Linked DNA regions of Homo sapiens: region 1 is linked to region 2. The links are contacts of gene promoters, found by promoter capture Hi-C in blood cells and fetal thymus (Javierre and others, 2016). All regions are on one chromosome and are shown on one strand. The core of a region is centred on a gene start or on the middle of the fragment in contact, and the rest is flanking DNA. Distances in the headings are between cores, read along the strand shown.

Evidence for each region. The method cuts DNA at HindIII sites, captures the fragments that hold promoters and counts their contacts. A CHiCAGO score of 5 or more calls a contact.
Region 1: a contact is called between a fragment that was not itself captured here and the fragment with the promoter of SRGAP1 in region 2, in 1 of 17 cell types (M1 macrophages). The highest score is 5.9, in M1 macrophages.

Annotation. Positions count from the first base shown.
Region 1 is chr12:64,260,421-64,264,735 of GRCh38, forward strand. No RefSeq gene overlaps it. Among named protein-coding and RNA genes, the nearest start is that of KICS2, 40 kb to the left of the region's middle. The HindIII fragment of the contact is 828 bases long and covers 997-1,824 here.
Region 2 is chr12:63,842,937-63,847,769 of GRCh38, forward strand. It overlaps SRGAP1 (SLIT-ROBO Rho GTPase activating protein 1), which reads left to right and starts at 1,764. Exons shown (of 22, transcript NM_020762.4): 1 at 1,764-1,947. The coding sequence starts at 1,881. RefSeq lists silencers at 697-1,116, 1,177-1,236, 1,347-1,606 and enhancers at 769-1,270, 1,271-1,770. The HindIII fragment of the contact is 14,499 bases long and covers 1-4,833 here.

The DNA.
Region 1 (4,315 bases), core at 161-2,660, 420 kb after region 2:
CAGTGAACCGAGATTGCACTATTGCATTCCAGCCTGGGCAACAAGGGTGAAACTCTGTCTCCAAAAGAAAAAAAAAAAGATTTAAATTCATTAACTCAGAAGTTATATTGATTTCCATGTTCAAAATACCACCGTCCCTTTAAAAAATGGATTGTAGGGGTCAAAAGTGACTAAATAGGCTATTACAGTAGTTGCTGGAGATTCAAACTAGGGTAATAGCCATAATTATGAGAAGTCAGTAGATCAGGAATATATCTTGAAGAAATTGCCAATAAGCACTGCTGATGGGTTACATTTGGGGAATAAAGAGAAGGGAGGAAACAGATCCCTCAGGTTTCTCTTTTGAGTAGTGGAGTGAATGGAGTGCCATTCACTTAGAGGGAGAGACTAGTGGAAGAACAGACTTTTACTGTCACATAAGGCAATCAAGAAAATTAATTCCATTCTGAAAATGTTTAGGTATGTTATAACCACACAATAATTTGTAAGTGAATTCTATGACTTGATGTATGGTTTATGCAAATCTGTGCAAGAATAAGCCATGCTATAACAAAGTGTCAAACTACTTGGGAAATGAGAATAAACCATATACTGTATATTTAAAGTACAAGGTCACTAAGCAAGTGAGTATTTCTGTTAAGATAATAGCTACCATTTATTGAGGGCTTGCTGTTTGTTTGAACCATATGGAATTGCAGATCCCAACATTTTCGGACTTGAAAATGGCAATGCTATATGGGTCATCCTAATATATAGTAACCATAGAATTAGATGTTTATATACAAATTAATTAATATTCACATATTCACAAAAACCCTTAAGGTAGGCTTCTTACTATCTCATAGTTTACAAAATAAAGGTTCTGGAAGATTTAAAATAACCTGCCAAAAGTCTGATGACAAGTAAGAACAAGGTCTGACATAGCATCTTATCCCAAAAGTTACACTACCCAGATTTCTAGCCAAGGAATCATGTTGCCTTCCCCAAAATGACAAAAGCTTCAGATCCACAAGGCACAGAAATACAGAGAAGTGCTTGGTCTGACGGCATGGAGAATGGCTGTCTCCCCACTATAGATACCCAAATTCAAGTTGACCTTACAAGCCTGCACTGCATTTATTTTATTTTATTTTATTTTTTATTTATTTTTTGAGACAGAGTCTTGCTCTGTTGCCCAGGCTGGAGTGCAGTTGTGCAATCTCGGCTCCCTGCAACCTCTGCCTCCTGGGTTCAAGTGATTCTCCTGCCTCAGCCTCCCGAGTAGCTGGGATTACAGGCACCTGCCACCATGCCCAGCTAATTTGTGTATTTTTAGTAGAGACAGGGCTTCACCATACTGGCCAGGCTGGGCCCGAACTCCTGACCTCAAGTGATCTGCCCACCTCGGCCTCCCAAAGTGTTGGGATTACAGGTGTGAGCCACCACGCCCGGCCTGTACTGCATTTTAGAAGCAAATCCAATGAACAAAGAGCAATCAGACAGTAATTTAACACTATTAAGAGTTGTTCAAAAATTCCCACCATGAACCTGGCATGCTGGCATGTACCTGCAGTCTCAGCTACTCGAGAGGCTGAGGCAGGAGGATTGCCTGAGCCCAGGAGTTTGAGGCTGTGGTGTGCTGTGATCTCACCTGTGAGTAGCCGTTGCACTACAGCCTGGCCAATATAGCAAGACCCCATCTCAAGAAAAAAAAAATCAAATTTATCTCGTCAAGAATTTTCAGCTTCTCTTCCATATTTATCACTGAACCTCTCTAATATGCAAATATGTGAAATATAAAACAAATGGTTGTAGCCTCAGAAAAAATATAATGGCACAGGTTGAAGCTTAGCAGCCAAAAAGCTTTCACTATGCTTATCAGCTGCCTTATAGAACATTTATTAATGTACTCTCAAGCATCTTCATGCAAAATTAAAAGTGGTACCGCCAGTGAGTGAGATTCAATATGAAATTATGTAAAACATGCTATCAGTTATAGGAACTTCAGGCTTTTCCCTCTTTGCACAGTAGCTAGAGTATCTAAATTTCAGTAAAACTCAAGAAATTTGGCTGGGCACAGTGGCTCATCCCTGTAATCCTAGCACTTTGGAAGGCCGAGGCGGGCAGATCACTTGACGTCAGGAGTTCGAGACCAGCCTGGCCAACATAGTGAAACCGTCTCTACTAAAAATACAAAATTAGCTGGGTGTGGTGGCACATGCCTGTAATCCCAACTACTCGGGATGCTGAGGCAGGAGAATTGCTTGAGCCCAGGAGGTGGGGCTGCAGTGAGCCAAGATCGTGCCATTGCACTCCAGCCTGGGGGGCAAGAGTGAAACTCAAAAAAAAAAAAAAAAAGAAAAGGAATACTTCATGTATCTCCTCTAACACTACCTGTAAATCCATTTGGAACTCTGTAAGTAAAGAATGGCTATTTCAATTTGGTCACTTAGCAATTACCCGTTCAAGTCAAAGGCTGAAAAAAGTTTAGGAACTAAAAAGCTTTCTGTCCACCCTTGGAAAGAGTGTTTTCCACGTAGATCTTCCATTGATGGCGCTAATTAGAGCCAACACTCTTTCCTGGTGGTAAGCAGTGAAAATAGTCACTTGTCAGGCCGGGCATGGTGGCTCACGCTTGTAATCCCAGCACTTTGGGAGGCTGAGGCCGGTGGATCACCTGAGGTCAGAAGTTCGAGACCAGCCTGGCCAACATGGTGAAACCCGTCTCTACTAAAAATACAAAAAAATTGCCAGGCGTGGTGGTGGGAGCCTGTAATCCCAGCTACTTGGGAGGATGAGGCAGCAGAATCGCTTGAACCCGGGAGGCAGAGGTTGCAGTTAGCCAAGGTTGTGCCATTGCACTCCAGCCTGGGCAAGTAGAGTGAAACTCAGTCTCAAAAAAAAAAAAAAAAATTCAAATGAATCTGTTCTCCAATGCTCTATAGACCAGGGGTTCTATGAGTACAGCGGCTGGTCCTCAGATTGGTTAAAAAAATAAGGCAATATTTATTAGTCTCTAAATTCTCACCCAGCTTTGTTAACTTTAACAATATATACCCCAAGTCTTTACTGCATGTCAGATACCGTGCTGTGTGCTAAAGCATTTATGTTTTCATTTAAATCTCCTAACACCCTTTGCAGTAGGTTATATTATCTTTGCTTTAACTGCAGCTTACAAATATTTGTAACTTCCTAAGGTCCAAAACAAGTGCAGAACTGGAATTTAAACCATTTCGGCTCCAAAACCAGTGTTCTTACCCGCATTATATATAGATGAAATTTTAAAATTATAATTATATATAATTACATATAATCTCTATATATTATTTACATATATATTTTTAATTTTTTAATTTTTATATTTTTATTTATTTTTTGAGATGGAGTCTCACTCTGTAACCCAAGCTGGAGTGCAGTGGTGCGATCTCGGCTCACTGCAACCTCCGCCTCCCGGGTTCAAGTGAGTCTCGTGCCTCAGCCTACCCCGATTAGCTGGGACTACAGGTGTGCGCCACCACGCCCAGCTAATTTTTTATTTTACTAGAGACAGGGTTTCACCATGTTACCACCATGTTCGTGGTCTTGAACTCCGTTGCTCGGGCAATCCACCTACCTTGGCCTCCCAAAGTGTTGGGATTGCAGGCATGAGCTACCGTGCACAGCCTATTTACATATATTTTTTATTTATTTATTTATTTATTTATTTATTTATTTATTTATTTATTTTTTGAGACAGAATCTTGCTCGGTCACCCAGGCTGGAGTGCAGTGGTGCAATCTCGGCTCACTGCAACCTCCGCCTCCGGGGTTCAAGCGATTCTCCTGCCTCAGCCTCCTGAGTAGCTGGGACTACAGGCGCGTGCCAACACACCCGGCTAATTTTTGTATTTTTAGTAGAGACGGGATTTCACCATGCTGGCAAGGCTGGTCTCGAAATCCTGACCTCATGATCCACTCACCTTGGCCTCCCAAAGTGCTAGGATTACAGGCGTGAGCCACAGTGCCCGACCTACCTATACTTTCAAATGGAGAGCTGATGACTGCGGGGGTAGGTAATGGTGGTAAATGGCAGTGCTTGTATTATAAAGATGGCCAAAGGGTTTAGAATCTTGACCCTGGCTGGAAAACTGTCCATGTGTACTTGCCTTTTTGGCAAGCCTTTGGATTCTTAAAAAGTTATTTATGTGATCTTCATAGTCAAATTTTTCTACAATCAGATTTCCTGAAAAATAATTATTTTGTAGGTGAGGTCAATATTTAGTTAAAATGTTAAATGTGTCTGAGCACTAATAGAGATGGATTATTCTGTGATTTTTCTTGCCTTTGACAACAATGCA
Region 2 (4,833 bases), core at 514-3,013:
CCAACATGGCAAAACCCTGTTTCTACTAAAGATACAAAAATTACCCAGGCACGGTGGCGGGCGCCTGTAGTCACACCTACTCTGGAGGCTGAGCCAGGAGAATCACTTGAACCCGGGAGGCGGAGGTTGCAGTGAGCGGAGCTCGTGCCCCTGCACTCCAGCCTGGGCGAGAGTGAGACCCCGTCTCAAAAAAAACCCCCAAAAAACAAAATCAAAAAACAAAAACAAAAACAACCGTAAAAGTACTAAGTGCAATGTAGTGTCCTGTGTTGGATCTTGGAACAGAAAAAATGACACTAGTCGAAAAAATTGGTAAAATTGGAATAAAATCTGGAGTTTAGTAAATAAATAAGCTAACAACGCCGTTAAGTGTGACGTGTTTCCATACCATCGCTTTCCTACCATCCTAGCTTCCCTATCTACTGTAGGAATAGAGGATATGGTGTTCAAGGTGGGTGTTTTTCTCCGCCTCGATTGAAGAGCTTCGCGCTCTTTGGATTAACAGCCAGGTCATTCACAATTCAGTGTTCAGTTTTTCTATTGGGGTCCAGCGTCTCGGAGTAACATCCCTTTGTGTCATGGATACATCCAACTCTGGACTTCCCCATTAGATTCTGGCAAAAGCCCCACCAGAGCCCCCGCCAGAGCCAGAAGGCGGTCCCTCAGGTCAGGAAGGGGTTTTCCTGCCGCCGGAGCCGCGACCTCGGCTAGCGGTGGAGCGGGGCTTCGGCGGAGGGAGGTGCGGGGCCTCGGCGGAGGGAGGTGCCGGGGGCGCCGCCCACGGCCTCCTGGGCTCGGCGCGCGGGGCCGGGCTGCGGTTGGCCACAAGAGGCATCCATCTTCCCGGACCAGCCAGGCGTTTCCTAGCGGAGCAGGGGCGGGAGCTTGGACGGAGAAGGGCACAGGCCGGAGCGCGGTCCGCTCCCGCGAGCCTGGCCCCGCCTGGCGGAGCCCCGAGGAGCCACCGCCCGCAGATCGCTAGCCGGGCGCCCGCGAGGCGCGAGCCGTGTGCGCACCCTCAACTTTGCTGCCGCCGGGGGCGCGGCTCCCGCGTGCGTGTGCGAGTGTGCCTGTCACTAGCGGCCTCCTGGGGGCAGCAGCGGAAAGGGGGACGCAGAGAAAGGCAGCCTCGGCGCACCGCGGCCAGGGAGGCAGAGGCCCCTCGCGGCGCCGGCTCTGGAGACCTAAACTCCGCCGGGGCTGTGCCCAGGGCGCGTCTGAGCGTCGCCGCCTTCACCCTCTCAGCAGCAGCGGGGACTCGCGTCAGGACTGCGATTCCTTTCGCCTGCCGAGCTGTAGCGGCAGTGTCTGCGGGCAGAGGAGCGGCGGCCGTGGCAGCAGCATCCCCAGCCCGGGCGGGACCCTTGAGCGCCGGAGCCGACAGCTGGAGGCAGGAAGGGAGGGTTGTGGCGCCCGAGCTGGGCGCGTTCCCAGCGCCTGCCCTCCGCCGCTGGCCCTGTCCCGGGCGCCCGGTGCGGGTCTCGAACAATGGTGCGGAGCGCCGGCGCGAGCCCCGCGCCCGCCCAGCGGCCGTAGAGGAAGTGGCCGGGCTCCCGGCGAGGTGGGCAGGGAGACGTCCCCCGCCACTCGCTGGCTGGAGTTTGCCTGCGCGTCCGGCCTCTCCCCCGGGGATCCCCTGGGATTACCGACGGAGCTCAATTTCGAGAGTATGGTGCCAGCGCCCGGGCTAATCTAGTCCTCTCTACTCGCTCTTTTTCCCCTCCTCCTCCTACTTCTCCTCTCCCTCCTCCCTTCCCTCGGGTCGGCGCTGCCTCTGGATTGCCTGCGTGTGGGAGTACAACTCTGCCTCTCCAAGGAGAACGGGTTGTGACCACTGAACAAAACTTGCCCATTGAAAGCAAACCCGGAACAGCTGGATAATGTCCACCCCGAGCCGATTCAAGAAGGACAAAGAGATCATAGCCGAGTATGAAAGTCAAGTCAAAGGTAAGGATGGGAGCGGCTGCCTTGCTCCTTTTGTGTGCCTTCTTGTCATTGTGCTCGTGGAGTTGCGTATCTAACTTGGTGTCTGCGTGGGAGGAAGGTGGTGAGGGGACAGCTCGAGCCCTGTCTGAGCCACCTGGGCTTCCTACAAGCCAGTTAGTTCCCAGTTGCAATCCCAGTCCCGTCAAACCCACGGGGAGCTGGAAACTGGGTGACTTCCCCCGCCAGCTGCCAGCCCGCATCTCTAATGGGGAGAGAACTGGCTTTAACTTAACCACCTTCAGCTGGGCAACTTATGTGGGAAGCAGGCAGCAGTGGAGGATCCTGTCCAGCTATTATTATCACCATCATTATTCTTTTTAAATGGTAGGATTGTCACTACGTAATTTTTTTACGGAATGATTTTTGTAAAGTCTGTGAACCCCAAGCGGTCTACAGCCTCATTGAGTGCAGGCTATTTCAGATATTTACACCACTCACCTATTTACACCGCTCACAATTTATTAGGGCGAGACCCCTTTTATTAAATAGCTCCCTAAAAGCCTGGCAGTTAAACGAAGCAGTGACTAGTGGAATCTGACTCTTCCTTTATAATGGGCCAGAATTCATTGCCATCTTTCACACTCACATGGGAATATTGCTTTATCATTTTCTGGAAGCCACTTGCATGTAAAATGAAGGTTTGAATATTTGAGTAGTAGTTTCAGTCCATTTACATTGTCAACTAATGAAGGAAACCTAATTAAGGCTGATTATTTTTACTTTCTATGCCTTGTGATTAAAAATATATATATTTTCTCTCCAATACAAGTATTTTGTTTTGTTACTGAAGTGTTTCGTAAACATATGTGTTACTTGAATTTTTTCCTCCTCTTTCCTGAGGTCTCAGGAGTAGCTTTCCTGATTGAGACAATGGATGGAATGTTGGGACCGCCACTGTTCTTTGACACATTCAATGCAAAGTTCATAAAGATTGCTATGTATACACCTGTGTTTATCTATGCACAGTCTTATGAAAGGGCTACGGAGAGAGGCATTACTGTACTTCCCTTGAGCAAGGGAGGAGCAGCCTGAGTGTTCTTTTGTGTGGTCAAGTTGTAAAAATGCCTGGAGTCCTGTGAGAGGACCTGGTGGAGAAATCCTGTATCATCCAGTGTGAATACAGACCAACTCATTGTGGACACTGCAGACACAATATGCAAGATAACTTAGGTTATCTTTAGGAGGACCCCTATAATGGAGTTATCTATAGGCTGACCCCTATAATGTGTTCAGGAGACACAGATTTTTGTCTGCTTGGAATTGTGATAATTTATACTTACAGGAACTTGTTTCATTGCTATGGAAGTTGTGTTAGCAGATAAGTAATTATTTTCTTAGAGCCAGGTAAACTTTCTAATGAGACTAACCTTTCTTTTTTCAGTGAGTCCAACATAGCCTAAAACCTTTCATTCCAGGGCAGTACTCTTGTTCACAACCACCATTTCTCTGTGCAGTTTTTCCACATGGCTCTTTGTGGCAGGTCTTCAAGGGGTGGCGGTCTGGTTTTTCTGCCGCCTAGAGCACTAATTGGCAAATGCACTTCCAAATGTTGATTTCTTTATGTTTGCTGTAAGGTCACTTGCCAGTGATCAAGTCCTTATTTGAAAATCAGCGAAATGGGATGTGTTGCAATGTGTCTATCAAATTCAAACGGAAGAAAAATCATGAACATGGTGAAAATCACATTTGGAGCTAAGTCTGTCCCACAGAGAATGACCTTCTCCCTATTTCCTTCAACACTTCTTCCTTCCACACACCCACGAGTCCCTAGGCTGCTTTAGGAGTCTTCACTGCACCTGCCCTGCCCTGAGTCCAGGCTTTACCTCCTCCTGCAGTACCTACACATCCAGTATCTAACCTAGATCACTACATCCATACACAAACATGGGAATAAGGGAATATCATGGAGTCAGATCATATACGCATTAAATGGCACAAATTCACCTGGTACTTCTAGGCAAATCAAGAAGAGAGTGGGAGACAAATAACAGATAAATAGTACATGAGGCCAGCTGTCCAATGCAGGGAGAGTAGGCCCCTTAGTAAGGACAGCATGGGAGACAAGACTGGTTTTTCTGTACCCTCGCAGAGTGCTAGTCTGTTATTTACAGGTATGTGTTTTGGGATCAGGTGCAGTGGTGCATGCCTGTAATCTCCGCATTTCAGGAGGCTGAGGCAGGCGGATCACTTGGGGTTAGGGGTTCAAGACCAGCCTGGCCAACATTTTGGTAGAGAAACCACATCTTTACCAAAAAATACAAAAATTAGCTAGGTGTGGTGGCACACACCTGTGGTCCCAGTGTGCCTGTGGTTCCACTTGAACCCAGGAGGCAGAGGTTACAGTGAGCCGAAATCACATCACTGCACTCCAGTCTGGGTGACAGAGTGAGACTCTGTCTAATAAATAAATAAATAAATAAAGGTATATGTATTTGGAACAAACTACTTTTTAAATTACAGTCAGCAACTTTATCTGATGATAAAAAAAAATTCTGTTCTATTGCTAAAGGAAAACCTGACTGTGTGGGACTCATTAAGACATAAGTCTAGGCCAGGCACGGTGGCTCACGCCTGTAATCCCAGCACTTTGGGAGACCGAGGTGGGCGGATCACTTGAGGCCGAGACCAGCCTGGCCAACATGGTGAAACCCTGTCCCTACTAAAAATACAAAAATTAGCCGGACATGGTGGTGCATGCCTGTAGTCCCAGCTACCCTGGAGGCTGAGTCAGGAGAATTGCTTGAACCCGGGAGGCAGAAGTTGCAGTGAGCTGAAATTGCGCCACTGCACTCCAGCCTGGCTGACAGAGTGAGACTCTGTCTCAAGAAAAACACAATGAATAAACAT